Regions from separate parts of the Homo sapiens genome. Here region 2 is linked to region 1. The links are contacts of gene promoters, found by promoter capture Hi-C in human tissues and cell types (Jung and others, 2019). All regions are on one chromosome and are shown on one strand. Each heading gives the region's core, a stretch centred on a gene start or on the middle of the fragment in contact. The rest is flanking DNA. Distances are from core to core; before and after follow the strand shown.

Evidence for each region. The method cuts DNA at HindIII sites, captures the fragments that hold promoters and counts their contacts. A contact is called where the count stands out against the background at its distance.
Region 2: a fragment that was not itself captured here is called in contact with the fragment with the promoter of COX19 in region 1 in 1 of the 25 tissues and cell types used here (heart left ventricle).

What each region holds. Positions count from the first base shown.
Region 1 is chr7:969,938-977,165 of GRCh38, reverse strand. It overlaps COX19 (cytochrome c oxidase assembly factor COX19), which reads left to right and starts at 1,617. Exons shown (of 3, transcript NM_001031617.3): 1 at 1,617-1,738; 2 at 3,874-3,985. The coding sequence starts at 1,657. RefSeq lists enhancers at 631-1,511, 2,143-2,212, 1,512-2,394 and silencers at 1,443-1,722, 1,743-1,902. The HindIII fragment of the contact is 7,753 bases long and covers 1-4,479 here.
Region 2 is chr7:2,412,824-2,420,051 of GRCh38, reverse strand. The region is part of intron 1 of CHST12 (carbohydrate sulfotransferase 12); the gene reads right to left. Among named protein-coding and RNA genes, the nearest start is that of CHST12, 13 kb to the right of the region's middle. The HindIII fragment of the contact is 8,434 bases long and covers 1-7,228 here.

The sequences.
Region 1 (7,228 bases), core at 368-2,867:
GCCTTACCGCTTACAGTACACTTTCATTCTGCCCTAGGTTGAGCTGTAACTACCCTCCACCCCCATTCGTATGGTGAAGCCACTAGGACCTTAGGATGTGACCTTTGCTTTGGAAATAGGTGCCAGGTGCGGCGGCTCACGCCTGTCATCCCAGCCCTTTGGGAGGCTGAAGTGGGCGGATCACTTAAGGTCAGGAGTTCGAGACCAGCCTGGGCAACATGGTGAAACCCCGTCTCTACGAAAAGTACAAAAAATTAGCCGGGTGTGGTGGCGCATGCCTGTAATCCCAGCTACTCTGGAGGCTGAGGCAGGAGAATCTCTTGAACTCGGGAAGTGGAGGTTGCGGTGAGCCGAGATCGTACCACTGCACGCCCGTCTAGGTTACAAAGTGAGACTCTGTGTTGAAAAAAAATATATTAGCTTAGCTGGGTGTGTTGGTGGCGCCTGTAATCCCAGCTACTCGGGAGGCTGAGGCAGGAGAATTGCTTTAACCTGGGAGGTGGAGGTTGCAATGAGCCAGGATCGAGCCACTGTACTCCAGCCTGGGCAACAAGAGAGAGACTCCGTTTTAAAAAACAAAACAAAGAAATAGGGTTGCTGCTGATATAATTAGTTAAGATGAAGTTATTGGGACGGCCCCTAACCCAACATGACTGCTATCCTTATAAAAAGAGGAAATTTAGGTTGGGCATGGTGGCTCATGCCTATAATCCCGGCATTTAGGGAGGCTGAGGCAGGAGGATTGCCTGAGCCCAGGAGTTAAGGACCAGCCTGGGCAACATAGGGAGACTCCATCTCTACGAAAAATAGAAAAATTAGCCTGGTGTGGTGGTGTGTGCCTGTGGTCGCAGCTACTCAGGAGGCTGGGGTGAGAGGATCGCTGAGCCCAGGAGGTCGAGGCTGCAGTGAGTCGTGATCATGCCACTGCACTCTAGTCTGGGCAACAGAGCAATACCCTGTCTCAAATAAATAAATAAAAATAGTAAATTTGGACATGCGCAGGACACCATGGGAACGTAGGGGCCGAGACCAGGTGGTGCTTCTGCAAGCCAAGGAACCTCACAGGCTGGCGGCCCCCAGAAGCTGGGAGGCTGGGACTGTCCCCAGGGCCCCCACTCTGCCCACTGCTTGGACTCCAGACCCCAGGACTGAGAGCACATTCCTGTTGTTGAAGCTGCTCGGTGGTGTCACCTGGCTCCAGCAGCCGCAGGCAGCGAGTCCACAGGCTCTCCTGTCCCTCCTGTGCCGCCTTCCTCCCCGGATGGGCCCCGTGATGAGGTCTCTGTGCGATGGGGAAACCGAGGCCCCAGCAGACACCTGGGATGCAGAGACGCCGGCACCGCTATGTGTCCTCGGGCAATTCGCTGAACCTTTCTGGGCCTCGGTTTCTCACCAATTCCAAAAGCTGATTCTGCTACCGACTGCTGTGAGGGTCCCAGGGGACGGGAAAGCCCGGGCAGCGCCCACCGGGGCTCAGGAGCTTGCTGACTCCGAGGGGGTGGGGCCGGGCCTGGGCAAGGGGTGGGGCCGGGCCTGGGCAAGGGGCGGGGACGGGGCCTGCTCGACGTGCTCGGCGCTCCCGGGGTGCCTGCTCGGCGCTCCGCCGGCCGCCCTGCGTACGCTCGCAAGGCGCTCGCAGACTCCGGAGTCGCCAACATGTCGACCGCCATGAATTTCGGGACCAAGAGCTTCCAGCCGCGGCCCCCGGACAAGGGCAGCTTCCCGCTGGATCACTTAGGTGAGCGGCGGAAGGTCGGCGGGCAGGGGTCTGCGATGGGGGGTCTGGGTCGCGGCCCAGCGCGGAGCCCTATGGGGTGCCGGCATCTAGCGCGGTGCAGGCGGGGAAACTGAGGCACGGCGGCCCGCCCCTCCGCCCCACCCAGCCCTGGGTCACTGCTGCGGCATGGACCCTGCAGGTGGGAGCTGGCAGGACCGTGGCCCCCGTGACGAGGGCAGCGACACCGACTCCTTGCGTCAGGCTTCCGGGTCTCCGGCTCCGCCCTGACTCACCCGGCGGGCTGTCTGTGCCCCGGGTTTGCAGAGCGGGGCATTCGGCGGCCACGAAGCCCGCAGCTGCAGCCGAGGCTTAGACGGTGCCTAGCGATGTCTGCTGCAAAGCTCAAAAGTGCTGCTGATCTCCCAGTGCTTCTGGCCGTATTCCGGTGGGGTTGCCTCCGTGGACATGAAGGCTTCGAAAAAGGATCTGTGGGCCGGGCGCGGTGGCTCATGCCTGTGATCCCAGCCCTTTGGGAGGCCGAGGTGGGCGGATCATTTAAGATCAGGAGTTCGAGACCAGCCTGCCCAACATGGGGAAACCCCGTCTCTACTAAAAATACAAAAATTAGTTGGGTGTGATGTGGCTCGCCTGTAGTCCCAGCTACTCGGGAGGCTGAGGCAGGAGAATCGCTTGAACCGGGAGACGGAGGTTGCAGTGAGCCGAGATCGGGCCACTGCACTGCAGCTTGGGCGACAGAGTGAGACAACGTCTCAAAAAAAAAAAGAAAGAAAAGAAAAGAAAAACGATCTGTGAATTACTGTTTCTTTCCCAACATTTTATTGTGACATTTTCAAATAGCAAAAATGAAAGAATTTTTACCCTGAACTCTCCTGTGACCATCACCTACATTGCACCTTAACCTCGTACTGGGCTGACTTTACCTCGTTGTGGGTTTTTTCCATTGTTGTTTTCAGCATGTTTATGAAGGAAACAAGTTTGGGTTTGATTGTTTTTGTTTTGAGACACGGTCTCACTCTGTTGCTTAGGCTGGAGTGCAGTGGTGCAATCATAGCTCACTGAAGCCTCGGCCTCCTTCCTTTCTGGACTCAGGGGAGTCTCCCGTCTCATCCTCTAGAGTAGCTGGGACTATAGGTGTGCAGCGCCACACCCAGCTAATTTTTTTTTTTTTTTTTTTTTTAGAGATGGGGTTTCCCCATGTTGCCCAGGCTGGATTATTTATTTATTTATTTTTGAAATGGACTCTCACTGTGTCGCCCAGGCTGGAGTGCAGTGGTGTGATCTCGACTCACTGCAACCTCCTCCTCCCGGGTTCAAGCGATTCTCCTGTCTCAGCCTCTAGAGTAGCTGGGACTATAGGTGTGCAACACCACACCCAGCTAATTATTATTGTTTTTTTATTTTTTATTTTAAAGATGGAGTTTCCCCATGTTGACCAGGCTGGATCATTTATTTATTTATTTTTGAAATGGAGTCTCACTCTGTCACCCAGGCTGGAGTGCAGTGGTGTGATCTCGACTCGCTGCAACCTCCGCTTCCTGGGTTCAAGCAATTCTCCTGCCTCAGCCTCCCGAGTAGCTGGGACTACAGACACCCGCCACCATGCCCGGCTAATTTTTGTATTTTTAATAGAGATGGGGTTTCACCAAGTTGGCCGAGCTGGTCTTGAACTCCTGACCTCAGGTGATCCGCCCACCTCTGCCTCCCAAAGTGCTAGGATTACAGGCGTGAGCCACCGTGCCCAGCCTGGATTATTTTTAGGAGACAAGGTCTTGATCTGTTGCCCAGGCTGGAGTGCAGTGGTGTGATCAAGCTCACTGCAGCCTCGAAATCCTTTGCTCAAGCGATCTTCCTGCCTCAGCCTCCTGAGTAGCTGGAACCACAGACGTGCGCCACACCTAGCTAACTTTTAAGGTTTTTTTTGGTAGAGATGGGGGTCTCACTGTGTTGCCCAGGCTGGTCTCAAACTCCTGGGGTCAGGTGATCCTCTCAGAGTGCTGGGATTACAGGTGTGAACCACTGCGCCCGGCCTGAGGAAACAAGTTTTGAAAGGAAAAGCAGCGCAGCTCTTAAGGCTGTTGTGTGGTTGCATCACTTTTCACTCTGAAAAGAACATGCTGTTTTCTTTCTCGTTCTAGGTGAATGTAAAAGCTTTAAAGAGAAATTCATGAAGTGTCTTCATAACAATAATTTTGAAAATGCTTTGTGCAGAAAGGAATCAAAAGAATATTTAGAATGCAGGATGGAGAGGTGAGTACAGCTAAGCGTTATGATTTCCACCTCCCACTACTCCAATTAAAACTTTTTTTTTCCTGAAAGGCCATTACAGTGTGTCTTTTTCAGGCCTGGGATTCAGCTTGTGTTTTTCAGGACTGTGGAATTGTTTGCCCTTGAAATGGAGGCTTATCAGATGAAATTGTACCAAAAGCTGTTTCACAATCTTGGGAACCTCTTCTTGAGCGATAGCGTTATACATGATTGCATTCCTGAGAGCATTTTCTTTCCACATTTGGTTGCTACCGACCTGTCATTAAGGTTTCCAAATCGTGCATCATAATGCTGACTGAGTCAAAAGACCGAAGGTCGTGGGTACACAGTTTCTTTCTTTTGCATTCTCAGATGTTAAAAATATGCACTGGGTTGTTTTGCTCCACTTTGAGTTGTTGGGAATGTGACAGGGAGGACAATAGACTATTTAAGAAATGATGAAAGATGAATGATTCTTCCTGTCGTAACCAGAACTCACCAACGCTCACTTTTAAACAAAACAAACGCGTTCGTAGCTATGATCCCCACAGCTTTTACTTAAAATAAGAGCTATTCTAATCCCTTATGCAAAAAAAAGCATGTAGCATATAATTATATGATGGTAGTGGGAGCTTTTATTTTTGCTTTTCGAGGCCATGATTAGCTCACTAAGCATTTCGGTCTTCAGACAGCTGTGTCTGTGCTGAAGACAGGTTGACAATTCGCCCATCCACTTTGAGCTCTTTTCATGTTCCCATAACATACTCAGACATTTCCCTCAAGGCAAAAATCCGTTGTGCCTTTCCGGCCACACAGGTGTGTTCGGGGTTATTCGTGTGGACATTTGGGGCCGTAAGGATGATGGGCCTTCTCAGCGGTGTGGACTTCAGTGAGGCCACGTTCTGCCTTTGGGGCTGTCGCTTAGGCTCTTCCAGGGCTCACATTTGTCCAAGGGCCACACTGAATCTGTCTCTTACCATCTCTGATTGTTTAAGTAGCACGCTGGCTGGAGCCACGTGTTTAAATTAGTCTTAAATTAATGCATCTTTAGAAAACTGGAACTGAGAATTTCTCCATGGCGCTGCCAAGCTTTAGAGACGGTGTGAATTGAGCTGTGTTCATGTGAGGGTGTGAGCAGGCCTCCTGCCTCATGCTCAGCTTCCCCTTGAGACTCCCGAGGACAGCTGGGAGGAAGGGAGCCAGGGCCAGTGCCTCAGGTGGTCTCGCAGATTGGCCAGGCAATGTTTAGGCAAATGTTCAGGGCATGTGTTCTGATTTCATTGTTTTTTTATTTTTATTTTTATTATTTTTTTGAGACGGAGTCTCACTCTGTCGCCTGGGCTGGAGCGCAGTGGCATGATCTCAGCTCACTGCAAGCTCCGCCTCCCGGGTTCACCCCATTCTCCCACCTCAGCCTCCCGAGTAGCTGGGACTACAGGCGCCTGCCACCTTGCCCGGCTAATTTTTTGTATTTTTAGTAGAGACGGGGTTTCACCGTGTTAGCCAGGATGGTCTGGATCTCCTGACCTCATGGTCCGCCCACCTCGGCCTCCCAAAGTGCTGGGATTACAGGCGTGAGCCACTACGCCCAGGCTTTTGTTGTTTTTTGTTTTTGTTGTTTTTTTTTTCTTTTTAAAAATTCTGCTCTTTCTATAAGGTCAGTTATTTTGACCGTAGAATTTCGATTGGTTATTTGTTCATGAAAATCATCAAACATACAGAAGTTGAGGAGTCTACCTCCCATAACCGGCACCCACCCTGTTTTTAGCCATTTCTTTTCTTCCTTTTTCCTTCTGTGCTAAAATCCTAGACATTACTTTACTCCAACCTCCGTGTGTGTCTGTTTTAGAAAATGGACCACAATGGAGTTTTTAAAGTTGTCTCTTGAGGACTTGGACCATGTTTGCCTGATGTGAAAATATAGGTGTGTTTCAGATGACCACCGTGGTCTGAGATCTCAAGCCTCTGCAGTGATTTAGAAGTTCGCGTCCTGTCCTGGGGATTAGTTTTAGGCACCGGGTGTCACACAGACACGCTGGTGGAGCAGCCTCACCCGCTGCCAGCAGCACAGAGTGTGTGGGGGCCTCATGGGATGATGGCTGGGCCTCCTGGCTGGGTTGTGGGGAGGGTAAAGGAGGCCATCCCTGTAAAGCACGCAGCAGGATCGGGGGGCATGTCACCATGTGTGAGTTCACATGATAGTAACTATTGTCCTGAAGAGTGTGGGGCCCATAAAGAGTCATGCTGAGTCGTGAATTTCACGCCTCTAAGATGGCTGCACTGCGATAAACAGCTGGGAATTATTTTGGCAAGAAGTGGTGGCTCACATCTGTAGCCCCAGCACTTTGGGAGGCCAAGCAGGAGAATCACTTGAGCTCAGGAGTTCAAGACCAGCCTGGGCAACATAGTGAAACCCTATATCTACAAAAAATTTCTTTAAAAATTAGCTGGCTGGGTGCAGTGGCTCACGCCCGTAATTCCAACACTTTGGGAGGCTGAGGTGGGCAGATCACTTGAGGTCAGGAGTTCAAGACGAGCATGGTGAGACCCCATCTCTACTAAAAATATAAAAATTAGCCAGGCATGGTGGCAGGCGCCTGTAATCCCAGCTACTTGGGAGGCTGAGGCAGGGAGAATTGCCTGAACCCGGGAGGTGGAGGTTGTAGTGAGCCGAGATCATGCCGCTGCACTCCAGCCTGGGCAACAGAGTAGGACTCCGTCTCAAAAAAAAAAAAAAAAAAAAATTAGCTGGCCGGGCAGTGTGGCTCATGCATGTAATCCCAGCACTTTTGGAGACCAAGGTGGGTAATCACATGAGGTCAGGAGTTCGAGACCAGCCTGACCCATATGGTTAGACACCGTCTCTACTAAAACTACAAGAATTAGCCGGGCGTGGTGATGTGCACCTGTACTCCCAGCTACTCAGGAGGCTGAGGCACAAGAATCACCTGGACCTGGGAGGCGGAGGCTGCAGTGAGCCGAGATTGCACCACTGCACTCCAGCCTGGGCAATAGAGCGAGACTGTTTCTGGGAGAAAAAAAGAAATTAGCCACGCATGGTGGCATACACCTGCAGTCTCAGCTACCCAGGAGGCTGAGGCGGGAGGATCACTTGAGCCCAGGAGTTCAAGGCTGCAGTGAACTTGAACCGCTGATCACACCACTGCATCCCAGCATGGGAGACAAAATGAGACCCTGTCTCTTAAAAAAAAAAAAAAAAAAAAAAATATCAGATAACTGTCGACC
Region 2 (7,228 bases), core at 2,267-4,766, 1.4 Mb before region 1:
CAGTGAGGTGAGATCGTGCCACTGCACTCCAGCCTGGGCAACAGAGCGAGACTCCATCTCAAAAAAAAAAAAAAAAAAAAAAAGACAAATATTTCAAGATTCTACTTGTATGAGGTTCCCAGGGCAGTTAAATTCCTAGAGACAGAAAGTAGAATGGTGGTTGTGGGGGCAGGGGAGGGGGATGGGAGTTTGTGTTCAATGGGGACAGAGCTTTAGTTTTACAAGATGAACATAGTTCTGGGGCTGGAGGGTGGTGATTGCTGCAGAGTGATGTGAACGTGCTTAACACCACCAAACTGCATGCTTAAAAATGGTTACAATGGTAATTTTTTTTTTTTTTTTTTGAGACGGAGTTTTGCTCTTGTTGCCTAGGCTTGAGTGCAGTTGCACAATCTCAGCTCACTGCAACCTCTGCTTCCCGGGTTCAAGCGATTCTCCTGCCTCAGCCTCCTAAGTAGCTGGGATTACAGGCTCCCACCACCATGCCTGGCTAATTTTTGTATTTTTAGTAGAGACGGGGCTTCACCATGTTGGCCAGGCTGGTCTCGGACTCCTGACCTCAGGGAATCCACCTGCCTTGGCCTCTCAAAGTGCTGGGATTACAGGCGTAAGCCACTATGCCCAGCCATTTTTTTTTTTTTTTTTTTTTTGGAGACAGGGTTCCACTCTATCATTCAGACTTGAGTGCAGTGGCGTGATCTTGGCTCACTGCAACCTCCCCACTCAAGTGATCCTCCCACCTCAGCCTCCTGAGTAGCTGGGTTACAGGTGTGCACCACCACGCCTGGCTAATTTTTGTATTTTTAGTAGAGATGGGGTTTCACCATGTTGACCAGGATGGTCTTGAACTCCTGGGCTCAAGTGATCTACCTGCCTCGGCCTCCCAAAGTGATGGGAATACAGGCATGAGCCACCACGCCCAGCCAAGTTTTAATTTTAAAAGGCGGTTTGGACAGCCAGACATGGTGGTTCATGCCTGTGATCCCAGCAATTTGGGAAGCCAAGGCAGGGGGATTGCTTGAGCCAAGGGGTTCAAGACCAGCCTGGTCCACACAGTGAGACCTCATGTCTACAAATAATTTTTAAAATTAGCTGGGCATGATGGCACACACCTGTGGTCCCAGTTACTCTGGAGGCTGAAGTGGGAAAATGGCTTGAACCCAGGAGGTCAAGGCTGCAGTAAGCTATGATTGTGCCGTTGTACTCCAGCCTGGGTGACAGGGTGAGACCACATCCCAAAAAACAAAACAACAACAACAGCAACAGAAACAACAGCTTGGACATACAAGAATGTCTGGCCCAGTGACTGACACAGCTCCGGCCTGAAGCCCACGTGACTTTTGCTACCTTCTGGGCAGGAGAGAAGCATTCAGGGAAGGGTCCGATAGAACCGCTGGGCTGAGCACTGCGGTCATGATCCCACCTGCTTCCAAAACACATCATGGGCAACACTGAAGCCATAAAGTAATTTTTCATTAAAAAGAAATAGGACATGATTTCCAAATGCAAATCTCCCAGTGTTTCAACAAAAAGCCCCCTGTGATTTGAAGCAGAGCACGCAGAGGCATCTCAGATGAACAGACGTATAACCCGCCTGCGGCACACCAACCGTGGGCTGCTGCCTCCAGCAAGGGAACCCACAGAGCAAAGTTTCACCTAGAAGCATCATCCGCCAGGAAACTGTAGCGGTGGAGGTGCTTTTCCACGGCGGCTGTGTCAGATGCCCTCATAAATGGCACTGAAAATTATTAGGTTAGGTTTAAACGCAAACACTGTGGTTAGGCTGACAGAGTTGTGTCTTAGCTCCGGGTGGGGCTGTTAAATATTTCTTTGCTCACACACAACATGCAGGGCATGAAGCCAGGGGCAGACTCTGCAGCCCCAGGGAGCAAGTCCATGCCGGCTGCCCACGCAAGGCCACTGGTCCAAATACTCATGCTGACTGTGGGCAAAACACTAGAGAAAGAAAAGGCAGCTAGCACAGACAGCTATGGCCTTAGCTCACTCGTGTTCAGCTGTGTGTCACCGTGACGTGACCACAGCCATCCTGCTCTGGAAGACACTGCCACATGGCCAGATCTATATTAAGCCCCCCAGAAGCGCATTTTCCACATTGTTACAGCAGAACTGACATCGATCACACAAAAAGGTCACGTAATACGTGGCTAATTTTATGTGTCAACTGGACTGGGCCGTGGGGTACCCAGATATTTGGTTAAGCATACTCTGACTGCGTCTGTGAGCATGTTTCTGGAGGAGAGTAACATCCAAATGGGTGAACTGAGATATCGGATGCCCTCCCAGTATGAGAGGGCCTCAGCCAGTCCACTGAAGGCCCAAGTACAACAGAAAAGTGGAGTAAGGCCAGGTGTGGTGGCTCATGCCTATAATCACAGCACTTTGGGAGGCCAAGGCAGGCGGATCAGTTGAGGTCAGGAGTTCGAGACTAGCCTGGCCAACATGGTAAAACCCTGTCTCTACTAAAAATACAAAAATTAGTCAGGCCTGGTGGCACATGCCTGTAATTCCAGCTACATGGGAGGTTGAGGCAGGAGAATAGTTTGAACCTGGGAGGCGGAGGTTGCAGTGAGCTAAGATCACACCACTGTACTCCAGCCTGGGCAACACTGTGAGACTCCATCACAAAAAAAAAAAAAAAAAAAAGTCAGACATGGTGGCGCACACCTGTAACCCAGCTACTCAGGAGGCTGAGGCAGGAGAATTGCTTGAACCCAGGAAGCAGAGGTTGCAGTGAGCTGAGATCACGCCACTGCACTCTAGCCTGGCCAACAGAGCAAGACTCTGCCTCAAAAAAAAAAAAAAAAGGTAGAGTAAGAGAATCAACTCTCTCTGCCTGCCTGTCTTTGAGCTGGGACATTGGTCTTCGTCTTTGGACTCCGTCTCAGACTGGAGTCATACCATTGGCTCTCCAGGGTCTGAATTTCTCAGCCTCCGTAATTGTGTGAGCCAATTTCTTATCATCAATCTCTTTGTATACACATTGCAAAAGAAAAATAAAATCTCAGGACCCCGAATTCACCAAGCTAAAGGGAAAGTTAAGCTTAACAACCAAGTTACGCAAAAGAAAAGCTGCCTTCTTTTCTTTCCCAGATAAAGTAATTTACGTGCTTATTTATCGCAGGTAAAATGCAGATTTACTGTGCGGAGAAGGCGTATGTGACTCTGCCCCACTCCCTTCTTTTCACATGTAAAATGTAGATTCACTGAATGGTACTAAAAGCCTCACAAAAATGTGACCACTGGCCTCATTGCCTACTCCACCTCCTTTTCTTCCCCTCTTCCCCTCCTGCCTACTTTTTCCTCTTTAAATACTGAAGTTTCCAAAACCCTCTTTAGAAAAAGCACACAGGCCACAGATCCTACAATGACTTGTGTTTCTTTCTTAACCTTGGCAAAATACACCTCTAAATCGACTGAGATCTGTTTCTGTTTCCATGCCTGCTAACACAACATCCATTCTGCAGCCCATGGATCAAGCAGTAATTTTGACTTTTAGGTCTTATTATTAAAGGAATACATTTTGTAAGGCTAAAGCTGCCATAGTGATTCCTCTGTAGGATCTGGGCAAAGTAAACTGAAAACCTGGAAAGGATTCACCATTCTAATGCCTTTAAGAACATTCGGGATTCACAGGAAGAGATCAAAATAGCAACATTAATAGAAGTTTGAAGAGGTTGGTTCCAGTCCTCATGGATGACTCTGAGGAGTTCAAGACTCCGGTGCAGGAAGTAACAGCAGATGTGGTGGAAACAGCAAGAGAAGTAGAATCAGAAGTGGAGCCTGAAGATGTGGCCAAATAATTGCAATCTCATGTTCAAAGCTGAACAGATGAAGAGTTGCTTCTTACGAAGGAACGAAAGAGCAGTTTCTTGAGGAGGAATCTACTCTGGGTAAAGATGCTATGAACGCTGCTGAGATGACCAGAAAAGATTTAGAATATTCCATAGACTTACATGATAATGCAGTGGCAAGGTTTGAGAAGATTGACTACAATTTTAAAAGATGTTCTACTATAAGTAAAATGTTATCAAACAGCATCACGTGCTACAGGAAAACCTTTTGTAAAAGTAAGAGTCAATAAATGCAGCACACTTCATTGTTGTCTTAAGAAATTGCCAGCCAGGCGCGGTGGCTCACGCTTGTAATCCCAGCACTTTGGGAGGCTGAGGTGCGCGGATCACAAGGTCAGGAGATCGAGACCATCCTGGCTAACACGGTAAAACCCCGTCTCTACTAAAAATACAAAAAAAATTAGCCAGGCGTGGTGGCGGGCGCCTGTAGTCCCAGCTACTCAGGAGGCTGAGGCAGGAGAATGGCGTGAACCCGGGAGGCGGAGCTTGCAGTGAGCCAAGATCGTGCCACTGCACTCCAGCCTGGGCGACAGAGCGACTCTGCCTCAAAAAAAAAAAAAAGAAAAAAGAAAAGAAATTGCCATAGCCACTCCAGCCTTCAGCAACCACCGCCCTGATCAATCAGCAGCTATCAACATCAAGACAAGACCCTCCACCAGCAAAAAGATTGCCACTCGCTGAAGGCTCAGATAATTGTTAGCATTTTTTAGCAATATTTTTAAATTAACGTATGTACATTGTTTCTTAGACATAATGCTATTGCACACTTAATAGACTACAGTATAGTGTAAACATAAAACTTTTTTTTTTTTTTGAGGCAGAGTTTCGCTGTTGTCATCCAGGCTGGAGTGCAGTGGCACAATCTCGGCTCACTGCAACCTCTACTCTGGGGTTCAGGTGATCCTCCTGCCTTAGCCTCCTGAGTAGCCAGGATTACAGGCGCCCACCACCACATCTGGCTAATTTTTTGTATTTTTAGTAGAGATGGGGTTTCATCATGTTGGCCAGGCTGGTCTTGAACTCCTGACCTCAGGTGATCCACCCGCCTTGGCCTCCCAAAGTGCAGGGACTGAGGCGTGAGCCACCACACCTGGCCAAATATAACTTTTATATGCACTGGGAAACGCAAAAACTTTGTTGACTCTCTTTATTGCGATATTCACTTGATTGTGGTGGTCCAGAACTGAACCTGCAACATCTCTGAAGTATGCCTGTAGAGATAAATGAGACAGCACAAAGTCCCAAAAGAGATCCACATGTATGTGGCTGTTTTCAAAAGGTGGCAAAGTAATTCAATAAGGAATAACAATCTTTTCAACAAATGGTGCTGAAACAACTGGATATCTGCATGAAAAAGAATGAACCTCAACCCTACGCCTCACACAGAAATTAACTCACAATGGATCATGGCCTTACACATAAACACTAAAACTAAAATATTCAGAGGAAAACAGGAAAAAATCTCCATGACTTGGGAGAAGGCAAAGATTTGTTGGGATACCAAAAGCACAAATATGAGAGAAAAATGTGGTAAATTGGACTTTATCAAAATTTAAAACTTAGGATTCTCAAATTTTACCATTAAAGAAAGTAAAGGCTGGGCACGGTGGCTCACACCTGTAATCCCAGCACTTTGGGAGGCCGAGAAGGGTGGATCACCTGAGGTAAGGAGTTCAAGACCAGCCTGTCCAACATGGCGAAACCCCATCTCCACTAAAATTACAAAAAATTAGCCGGGCATGGGGGCAAGTGCCTGTAATTCCAGCTACTCAGGAGGCTGAGGCAAGAGAATCGCTTGAACCCAAGAGGTGGAGGTTGCAGTGAGCCAAGATCACACCATTGCGCTCCAGCCTGGGTGACAAGACCAAAACTCTGTCTCAGAGAAAAAAAAAGAAAAAGAAAAATAAAAAAAGAAAGTAAAAGACAGGCCATAGGCCGGGAGAAAATATTCTCAATATGTATATCTAACAAAGTGCCTATATCCAGAATATATAAAGAGCTCTTACAACGGAAAATAAACCCAATTAAAAAATAAGCAAAAAATTTGAACAGACGTTTCACAAAAGAAGAGATACAAATAGTCAGAAAGCACATAGGAAAGTGCTCATCATCATTAGTCATCAAAGAAATGCAAATTAAAATGAGATAACTGGCCGGGCGTGGTGGCTCATGCCCGTAATCCCAGCACTTTGGGAGGCCGAGGTGGGTGGATCACCTGAGGTCAGAAGTTCAAGACCAGCCTGGCCAACATGGTGAAACCCCATCTCTACTAAAAATACAAAAATTAGCTGGGTGTGGTGGTGGGTGCCTGTGATCCCAGCTACTCGGGAGGCTGAGGCAGGAGAATCACTTGAACCCAGGAGGCAGAGGTTGCAGTGAGCCAAGATCACGCCACTGCACTCCAGCCTGGGCGACAGAGGGAGACTCTGTCTCAAAAAAAAAAAAAAAAAAAAAAAGCTAAAACCTGAAAACAACCCCAATGTACATCAGCAAGTGAGTGTAAAAAGGGTGAAGTGCTGATTCATGGGTGAACGCCACAGGTCGCACACTGAAAAAGGAGCCAGACGTAAAAGACTGCATGTTCTGTGGTTCCATTTATATGACATTTAAAAGAGGCCAAAATCGTGATGAAAATCATAGACTGCAGAGGAGCACGCAGAAACTCGGGGCGATGGAAATGCTCTACTGTTTGATTGCAGAGGCAGGTACAAGGTGAATATGTTTGGCCACGTTCCTCAAACTGCATACTTAAAATGGGTACGTTTTATTGCATGTAAATCATACTCAATACATTTGATTTAAAGTTAAAAAGAAAATGTTTGTGGTTTTATGAAGCTGATCTCCAGAGGCTAACACTTCTCTCTCTAATATGAATGCAATGGCCCAGCTCTCACCAATTTCCACAGTACAGAAGAAAACACCAGTGCAGAGTTCCGCACAGACACGGAGGGACTGGGAGGAAGAGGGAAGGGATACTGAGACCAAGTCCGGCCTCTGCTGAGTGGCCTGGGCCAAGTCATTTTATGTCTGACTTTCAGTCCATCTACAAAAGAAGAACAAACTAGGCCTTTCTGCTAACCAGAGCTACCGAGAGCACAAAAATGAGAAAACACAGCTAAGTGGTTGATAAAATAGTAAAGCACTTTCTTTAGAATCTGCCCCGGCCTTACTTATCTCTCTGTCTTCATCAGGCTCAAATATTTGTTACACAAATATGTGTTATTTTTATTATTACTCATGCTTTCTACCAAGAGCCAGTTATCAAGTCAAAAAAAAAAAAACTGTCTATTTGCAAATTGATTTTAAAATAACAATACCAATAGCTAACATGTTGTTAAAAGTGATGTTCTAAGGGC